Regions from separate parts of the Homo sapiens genome. Here regions 1 and 3 are each linked to region 2. Evidence: promoter capture Hi-C in human tissues and cell types (Jung and others, 2019). All regions are on one chromosome and are shown on one strand. Each heading gives the region's core, a stretch centred on a gene start or on the middle of the fragment in contact. The rest is flanking DNA. Distances are from core to core; before and after follow the strand shown.

Region 1 (2,730 bases), core at 127-2,626, 410 kb before region 2:
CTCAGAATAGAAGGTAAAACACAATGTGAGTAACAAGATATGCAGGACTATTAATAAAGCCCCAGCTCAACCTTGCTGACTACTGTGGCTTCCTTTGATCTCCAGGTGTCCAAAGCTGGTGCTTAAGTTTGTTGTTTAGTAGTTGGTTTTAGGCTGGGCACGGTGGCTCACGTCCATTATCCGACTATTTTGGGAGGCCGAGGCAGGCAGATCACATGAGGTCAGGAGTTTGAGACCAGCCTAGCCAACATGGCAAAACCCCATCTCTACTAAAAAAAATAATAAAATTAGCTGGGCATGGTGGCGCATGCCTGCAATCCCAGCTACTTGGGTGGCTCAGGCATGAGAATCATTTGAACCTAGCAAGTAGAGGTTGCAGTGAGCTGAAATCGCACCACTGCGCTCTAGCCTGGCCGACAGAGCAAGACTGTCTCAAAAAAAAGAGTTGGTTTTGTTTCTTTTTCTTTTGGTTTGTCCTCAGCTATAGTGGGCCCCAGTGGCCTGGGATGTGAGGCTTTGTGGGCTTCCAGCACCAGATACAGAGGCCCCTCTTCACTGGCCAGAATCCAGGGACCAAGGGGCACTTTTATGCACTGGACAGAGTTGTAGGAATTAGTCATATCTGCAGTCCTTCCATTCCTGTTTCTTTATTGTCCTTATGTTTAATAGCCATCATCATGTAAAGAAAAATGACAAAATCCTTCCTTATGATAACATTTTCTCTCATGGAGGATAATAGCTTCCTCAAGTCATGCTGTCTCTAGAATTTGAGGTCCTGATGCAAACTGTTCTGTGGTCAAGTCAGTCTCATGGAATCAACTCTTCTTTTCAGTGCTTTGAAGAAAGCAGATGCCATCTCATCTATTGGCACATCAGGACTGACAGACATGAAAAAATTGGCCAAGTGGGCAGCAGAGTCCAAGCTCGACCCAAATGACCCCAACAATGCCCCTTTGATGCAGCTTATCTCGGTATGTAGCAGGAGGCACACATGCCATTTCTTGACTTGGCCTTTTACACAATTTTCCTTTACACTATCTTCTCCTATGCAATACTGTTTAAGAACATGGGTGCTGGGTTGAATGCCAAGTTTGAATTCCAGCTGTGCTTCTTGCCTGGCTATGGGACCCAGGCAAGTATTCAGTGCTTCTAAGCCCTGTGCTGCTGTCATAGCGGGGTCATGAGGAAATGAACAGCTGCAGATAAACTCTTAGCTCGGCCGGGCATGGTGGCTCATGCCTGTAATTCCAGCACTTTGGGAGGCCAAGGAAGGAGGATCGCTTGAGCCCAAGAGTTCGAAACCAGTCTGGGCAACATGGCGAAACCCTATCTCTGCAAAAAATGTAAAAATGTGCTTGGCACGGTGGCGCATGCCTATAGTCCCAGCTACTAAGGAGGCTGAGGTGGGAGGATCAATTGAGTCCACAAGGTTGAGGCTTCAGTGAGCTGTGATCTTGCCACTGCACTCCAGTCTGAATAGAGTGAGACTCCCATCTCAAAAACAAACAAACAAACAAAACCCCTTTATCTGGGCACACAATTTGTGAGCAGTAAATATTGTTGTTGTTGTCACTCCTACCTCCAACCTCTGTAAAACTCCTAAAGGTTTTATATCCCCTTCTCCAGAGAGGAAGCTGAGTTCAGAAACTCAGCGTTATTTGCTTAAGGTCACTCAGCTAATAAGTCGATTTGATTTCAGGACACTTGCTTTTTTCATCACAACTTAAAGCACTGATGGGGCATTTTAGGGAAAATTTGTTTTGTTTTCTTGTTGTTGATTAATTAGTTATCATTTAGGTTTCACTTAAGTATTTACCAGATAAATTGCTCAGATCTACCATAATATTCAAAATTCTTTCTTCAATGAATTTGCAAATAAATTGGAACATTAGTTTATTTTTCTTGGTATCGAATACAATTGGTTTTATTGGCAACTTCATTATTCACACAAAGCCATAATAAACAAGTAGGTAATCCAGAGGGTAGCCCTAGCAACACATCCTTATGATCATGGCTATCAGTATGTGTTTATCAATAGGATAATTGTAGCCGGCATGAACATTTTCATTTTGGTTCTAGTTTTTCCAAGTCCCATAACAAACCTTGGTTTATTCTGACTTTTATCTTTATAAACTCTCCTAAAGCATGATACACCTTAGTGTGCCTAATAGAAATATTTGGAAGATTGGGTCATATTACCTAAAATGTAGTCTATTCCATGTAAAGTTTTCAAATCACATTTCAATAGACACGTCACTTTCATTATTTTCTTTTTAACTATATGTTTTCCCATCAAAGAACAAAACGGGGATTGCCTTCTTGACTGGTCTCTTGCTATGAACCAGGATTGCCTTTCCCATGCAAGGCCCCAGCACATCTTGGGGCACTAGCTTTTCCTCTGCTCAGGAGGAGGTTACAGCCAGCAAAGCACCAAGCAGAGAGGCAGGCAGCACCTGGGTGAGGTGCAGTCCACATCTGCTCAGCTTCTCAGAGGTGCCAGACTTGGCCTTCTTGAGACAATGCACAGGGGCCTTGGAGGCTGGCTGGGCTGGATCCATCTCTGGCTAACTTTTCTCAGTGACCAAGGCTGTGAGGTGCTATTCAGGGACAGGAAAGCATGGCTGTGGAGCCAAGTAAAGCTGACCAGCTGCCTCTGAGGCCTTTATCTGCATATGCACATGACATTAAAAAGTCATATATTCGATTTTATATACGATATGTATATGGGTA
Region 2 (2,710 bases), core at 140-2,639:
ATTATTAATTAGATTTTCTCCTCTGTGATGAACAAAAAACAATTAAAGGCTTTGAGAGCTGTGAGAAAGACTTTAAAGACTATTTGACTCAAACTTTCCTCAGTGCACAACACTCCCCACCCTAACTTGACTGTAGGAGAAAAAACTGAGAACAAGACGGGGTGTGGCGACACCTCCACCATGACATAGCACCTCGGCCACTAACAGCTGCAGCAAATGCTTGGTTCATTAGGAAACGTTACCCGGCAGAATTCCAAAGGCCTCGGTCTAACAGTGAGGTGGTTCCATCACAAGGAGATTCTCAACCTTGGCTGCACATTCAAATCACTTGGGGGAGAGTTTTAAAAGTCCACATTCCTGCGCTACTATGTTGGAGACATAGATGGAACGGTCTGGCGAGGGGCCTGGGCATCAGCATTTTTAGAGCTCCTTGTAGGTGATTCCTATGCAACTCCAGGGTCAAGTGCCACTCCGGATGAACTACCTCATCTACACTGCTCTGCAACAGACAGCCTCAAACCCACCCCCAAACACACGCTGAGACTCTGATGTGGTCGCAGCAGCTGTGAAAGTGCTAAGTGCCTCTCACGTAGTCTCTGTATATAAGTATATACACGTAGTCTCTGTATATGAGTAAAGGAAAGGGTATTACCTGTAGGGGTCTTTCACCTGTCACCCTCGGAAGAAGCTGATGAGAAAGGCGCACAGGGCCTGGAAGGGTTTCCAACAATGTTCCCAGGCCTTCTTCTTTGCTTCCTCATTCCCTCCGGGCCTGGGTCCAGGCTGGGTAGGTTTGGCTGTGGGTCGGGTGGTGGGTTTGGCTTTTCCCAGCTCTTCCATCGAGTCCTTTCCCAGCTGTGTTGCTTCTGTGAGTTTCACTGTGGCCTTGGGCCTCAGAGATGGCGTCCCAGCCTCAGGCTGCTGGTTGGGCTCTGGGCTGCCCTTGAGGCTGGAAGTCACCTGCTGCATATGGGCCTGGGGTCCAGCCTCCCTGCACACGGATGGCCTAAGCACCGGGGCCCCCTGGCACGCATGGTGAAGGCGCCTCAGCTCCTGCAGGGCTTGATTCCAGTAAGGTTTGGGGTCAGCAGCGAAAGCCTGGCACATGCTGGGCTGCCCCCTGTACTCACACCAGTAGGTCTGGTCTGTGTTGCGGCAGTCGACACGAAGCCAGACTTCTCCAGCACCTTGCCCCAAGCTGCTGGGACGCATAGTGCAGGAATCTCTCCCTCCAGTCTGGAAATGGAATTCCTCCCCAGTGCTTCCTTGCTTTTGCCTCGGGGCCTGACCCAAAGTCCCCAGGCAGGACAAGGTCACCAGCAGGAGGCAGGGGACGAACTTCATGGCGATACTCCGATAAACTTGCTTGCAACTCTGCACCAGGAGAGAGAACACAAGTGGGACGAGTCACCCTTTAAAGGGTGCTGCACAAAAGACTCTTTCTCTGCAAGGGTGGGGAGGATGTTTTGCAGCAAATGAGAAACATGCCCACAGACCTTAGACACGTAACACTTGGCAAGGGCAGAGCAGCCACCAGGGGCCGCCCACCACAAGCAAAGGGAATGGTTTTCCTGAGTGCCTCAGAGAGATCTGCCCCAGCCCTGTCACGCACAAAGCGCCACACACAGCTTTGGGGCTGAGGGTTTTACAGTTTTCCAACCACAGGGTGCTTGCTCTAAAATTGGCCCTTGTACGGGAACAGCCTTCTTTGTCAACATTTGGTATATGCCAAGGTGTGGCAGTGGTATTCTGGAAAGTGAGGTTTGCAGCTGGGAGTCTGGGCTGCCTCGAGGCTCCCTCCTGCTCCCTGGAATCCCCATCTTGGGGGACCATGGGTTTAGTTAATCCAAAGGAAGCCAGAATTTTATGAGCCTAAGTGTTATGAGATGGCCTAGCAAATGCAAAAAAGACTATGTGAGGTTGTGTGAGGATGTGTGTGCCAGAGGGACACAGAGACACTCCCCCTCCCACCCACCGAGCTGAGAGTCACCTGGTGTGGCCTCTGTGGGGCTGTCCCGCCATCACCGTGGCCACAGGCCACAGTGCTGCAATGTTCACTTCCCTTGTTATTGCATGCCTTACAATTGCACCAACTGAATGATGACGAGGAAGGCATGCAAATATATGTTCACAGTGGGATTCAGTCTATTTTAGACCATGAATTCTATTTCAAATTCAATTGAAATAACACAGTTTTAATTATATCACAGGAAAATATGATTTTAAATATTATTATTATTGTTCTACAATAGAAAAAAAATAAATTGAAAATAACTTTTGATTCTGTGTCAAGAATCATAGTTTGGTATGGTCATAACTGTCTTTTGATGACCCTTCCAGAGGGCACTGTGGAGTGGACTAAAGGTGGCAATTTGCTGTTAGGAATAGGGTTGACGGATGTTGGGGGACTAGTTTGAATGTGAGGGATTTATCTTGGCGATCCCACGTAGGGTAGTTGGTACCTGGCACAGCCTTCCTTCCACCTGGATATCCTGAGTCCTGAGAAGACCTAGTAGGGCTGGAACTAAAGCCAGGCTGAGCTTCGGCAGCCACTGTGTGTGTAGCAGTGAGAGCCTTCCAGAAGAGGGCATCACCCCAGGTGGGGAGCAGAGGAAGCTTCCAAGAAGTGGTGCCAAACCTTCAAGACAAGTCAGTCAATTTGTCAGGTTGAGAAAGGGTAAAGGGCAGGTGTTTTTTTTGTTTGTTTGTT
Region 3 (2,765 bases), core at 117-2,616, 280 kb after region 2:
TGCAAACACTCCTTGGTGGATATTGTATAAAAAATAGCATCTATAACTAATCAGTCAGAATGCTGGATTTGTGCCCATACAATATATGAAGAACCTGATATATTTTCACAGTTGCATCCAGCCAATAAAACAGCCTGGTACCAACCTAACGGGATGTGGACACATCTCCAAAGCCTAGCTAGTCTTACCCAACTATATTCCCTATTTATCCTCAAATGAAAGAAAATTCCCTGTCTGTATTTTTAGTAATCAGACTTATTCCTCTCTAGAATATATTACTCCTCCATTTTGTGTTGAAACTGTTCAGATTAGCCTTTCCCAATGTAACCACACAAAATCCTCCTCTGCATATACCCATTCTTAATTCTATAATCCAGATAGATTTTCCTGAACTAGGTATTTCCCAATTCTATATCCAACAGCAAACTCTTCTTTTTATCTAAATTCAATAATTGGAAGTCTGCTTACCCCCTACTTCTTAAGGAAACTGGAGGGAACAGAACTGAGAGCCTCAAATTTTAGCATTACCCATGAAAGGAATGGGACTCTATTTCCAACGCACCACAATTTTGTGCAAGAATTGCCTGCAAATTGAATGACCATTTTGGATTAAAGTGGCTCCGAGTGTTCAGAGACAAAAAACCCTCTCTGCAATGAAACCATTAATCTTGGCTCATTTGTCCATAAAATATCTTCTCATAAGAGAAATTCATGCAGTGCTAAGCTTCTCACTACATGCAATTTTGGGTTTCACTCATTCGTCAGAGCATTGATTCCTTCCGTTGATACGTCTGAATTAGGAAAGGCTATTATAAATGTTCCCAGGACTTTAGAAAAAAGCTTTAATGACACTGCCACTTTTGTCTTGGCTTTACAAATGAGGTCTCTCCAACCTTGCTTCATTAGTTTTGCAAAATAGAGAAGTTCTGTATACCCTAACCACTCACTAGGGTGGTGCATGTGCTGTTAGTGTTGAAAACTGTAGCTTCTATGTTAATAAATCACGAATTGTTGCCCCAAATCTAAAAGATCTTAAAAGAAGAGATACAGGTTTTTCATCACAGAGGTGATGCTACACCTACTGATTTGTTTAGTTGACTAAATCGTGGCTCCTGGGAATCTCTGCTCTGGGAGATTTTTCAGTCCTTGGCGATTATTCTCTTTAAAGTCGTTGTATTTACCTTCCTAGTGCATGGTGTCCTATCAGGGGTTTTAAATGCTTTCCAGCAGCTACTCACATATCAAATGATTGCCATCAGGATCAGATAACTTGAGGAGCTCAACCACCTGACCAGTGATGGCTACAGAGGTGCTGATAACAGTGACACCACCACCCTTCCTTCCAGTGCAACTATGGACGATGAGAATGTCTCTATGACTCTGTCCCAGTGTCTACGTCAACTCCCTCAATGGCGATAACCAAGACGAATGCTATACCGTTTAATTACACTGTCAGTTTGCTGAGAGGATAAAGAGGATAACCAAAAAGGGGCAGTTGTAAAAACAAACTAAAATGGAGACTAGACCTGAAAAATCCCTCAGCAGACAAAGTGAGTTAGGCCTTGAAAATAACCTTAACGTTTTTTAAATTGCAAACATAAGCAAAACTTAACTTGGGCCATTACATGTAAATGCTTATATCAGAGGAAAACAAAACTTAAGCTCAATCAATCAGAAGCAGCCAACTAACTTAGGTAACTAGAGACTTTCTAGTGGGACAAACCAAATAAGGAAATTAAATATTCACTCAAACATTTTATTTTTAATTTTAAGAGACAAGGTCTCACTCTGTTGCTCAGGATGGAATGCAGTGGCGTGAGCATAGCTCAATGCAGCCTCAACTTCCTGGGCTCAGGTGATCCTTCTGCCTGAGCTCCCAAGTAGCTAGGATTAAAGTCGTGTGTTACCATACCTGGCTAATTTTTAATTTTTTTGTAGAAAAGGTGGCTGAAAGGGGGACAAAATAGGGGTCTTGCTATGTTGTGCAGGCTAGTCTCAAACTTTTGGCCTTAAGCGTTCCCCTTGTCTCGACATCTTCAGGTGCTGAGCAAATATTTTCTTTATTTCTGCATTCACTCTATAAAAGCCAGTTCCTTGTGCCTCTTTATGGAGCTCCAAACCTCTTCTGGTTTGGTGCTTCCCAACTCATGAATTGTTGTTTGCTCAGATAAACTCTAAGATTTGTATTGTGCCTCAGTTTTTCTTTTAACACTTTCTTTTAACAAAAACAAGTAGGGGTGAGGGCAGAAGGACAGAAGAGAGAGACAGAGAGAGAGGTGAGGGTGGTGGGGGGAGAAGGAAGATGACTGATTTTTAAAAAGATAATCTTTTGAACACGAACTTTCCTTTTGTTTTTTGAGACAGGGTCTCACTCTGTCACCAAGGCTGGAGTGCAGTGGCATGATCATGGCTCACTGCAGCCTTGATCTCCCATGCTTAAGTGATCCTCCCACCTCAGCCACCTGAGTAGCTGGGAACACAGACACACATCATGTCAGGCTAGTTTTTTATGTTTTGTAGAGATGGATCTCCCTACATTGCCCAGGCTGGCCTTAAACTCCTGTGTTCAAGTGATCTTTCTGCCTTGGCCTCCCAAATGAGATTACAGGTGTGAGCCACTGCACCCTGGCCAAGAACATTTTTGAAAGAAGACCTGGATACTTTAGGGAATTGGCTGACATTCCAAAGTGTTCTCTATTCCCTGTGGCTTTTGTGCCTTGTGAGAGGACTCTGAGAACTCACCAAATCCATTCCACAGCTATTGA

Evidence for each region. Contacts are between HindIII fragments. The study calls those that stand out against the background at their distance.
Region 1: a contact is called between a fragment that was not itself captured here and the fragment with the promoter of FGFBP2 in region 2, in 1 of the 25 tissues and cell types used here (spleen).
Region 3: a contact is called between a fragment that was not itself captured here and the fragment with the promoter of FGFBP2 in region 2, in 2 of the 25 tissues and cell types used here (adrenal gland and aorta).

The regions. Positions count from the first base shown.
Region 1 is chr4:15,554,240-15,556,969 of GRCh38, forward strand. It overlaps CC2D2A (coiled-coil and C2 domain containing 2A), which reads left to right. Exons shown (of 37, transcript NM_001378615.1): 20 at 833-971. Among named protein-coding and RNA genes, the nearest start is that of CC2D2A, 86 kb to the left of the region's middle. The HindIII fragment of the contact is 4,032 bases long and covers 1-2,730 here.
Region 2 is chr4:15,961,786-15,964,495 of GRCh38, forward strand. It overlaps FGFBP2 (fibroblast growth factor binding protein 2), which reads right to left and starts at 1,390. Exons shown (of 2, transcript NM_031950.4): 1 at 653-1,390. The coding sequence starts at 1,344. The coding sequence ends at 673. RefSeq lists an enhancer at 1,420-2,261. The HindIII fragment of the contact is 18,537 bases long and covers 1-2,710 here.
Region 3 is chr4:16,241,886-16,244,650 of GRCh38, forward strand. The region is part of intron 2 of TAPT1-AS1 (TAPT1 antisense RNA 1); the gene reads left to right. Among named protein-coding and RNA genes, the nearest start is that of TAPT1-AS1, 17 kb to the left of the region's middle. The HindIII fragment of the contact is 5,377 bases long and covers 1-2,765 here.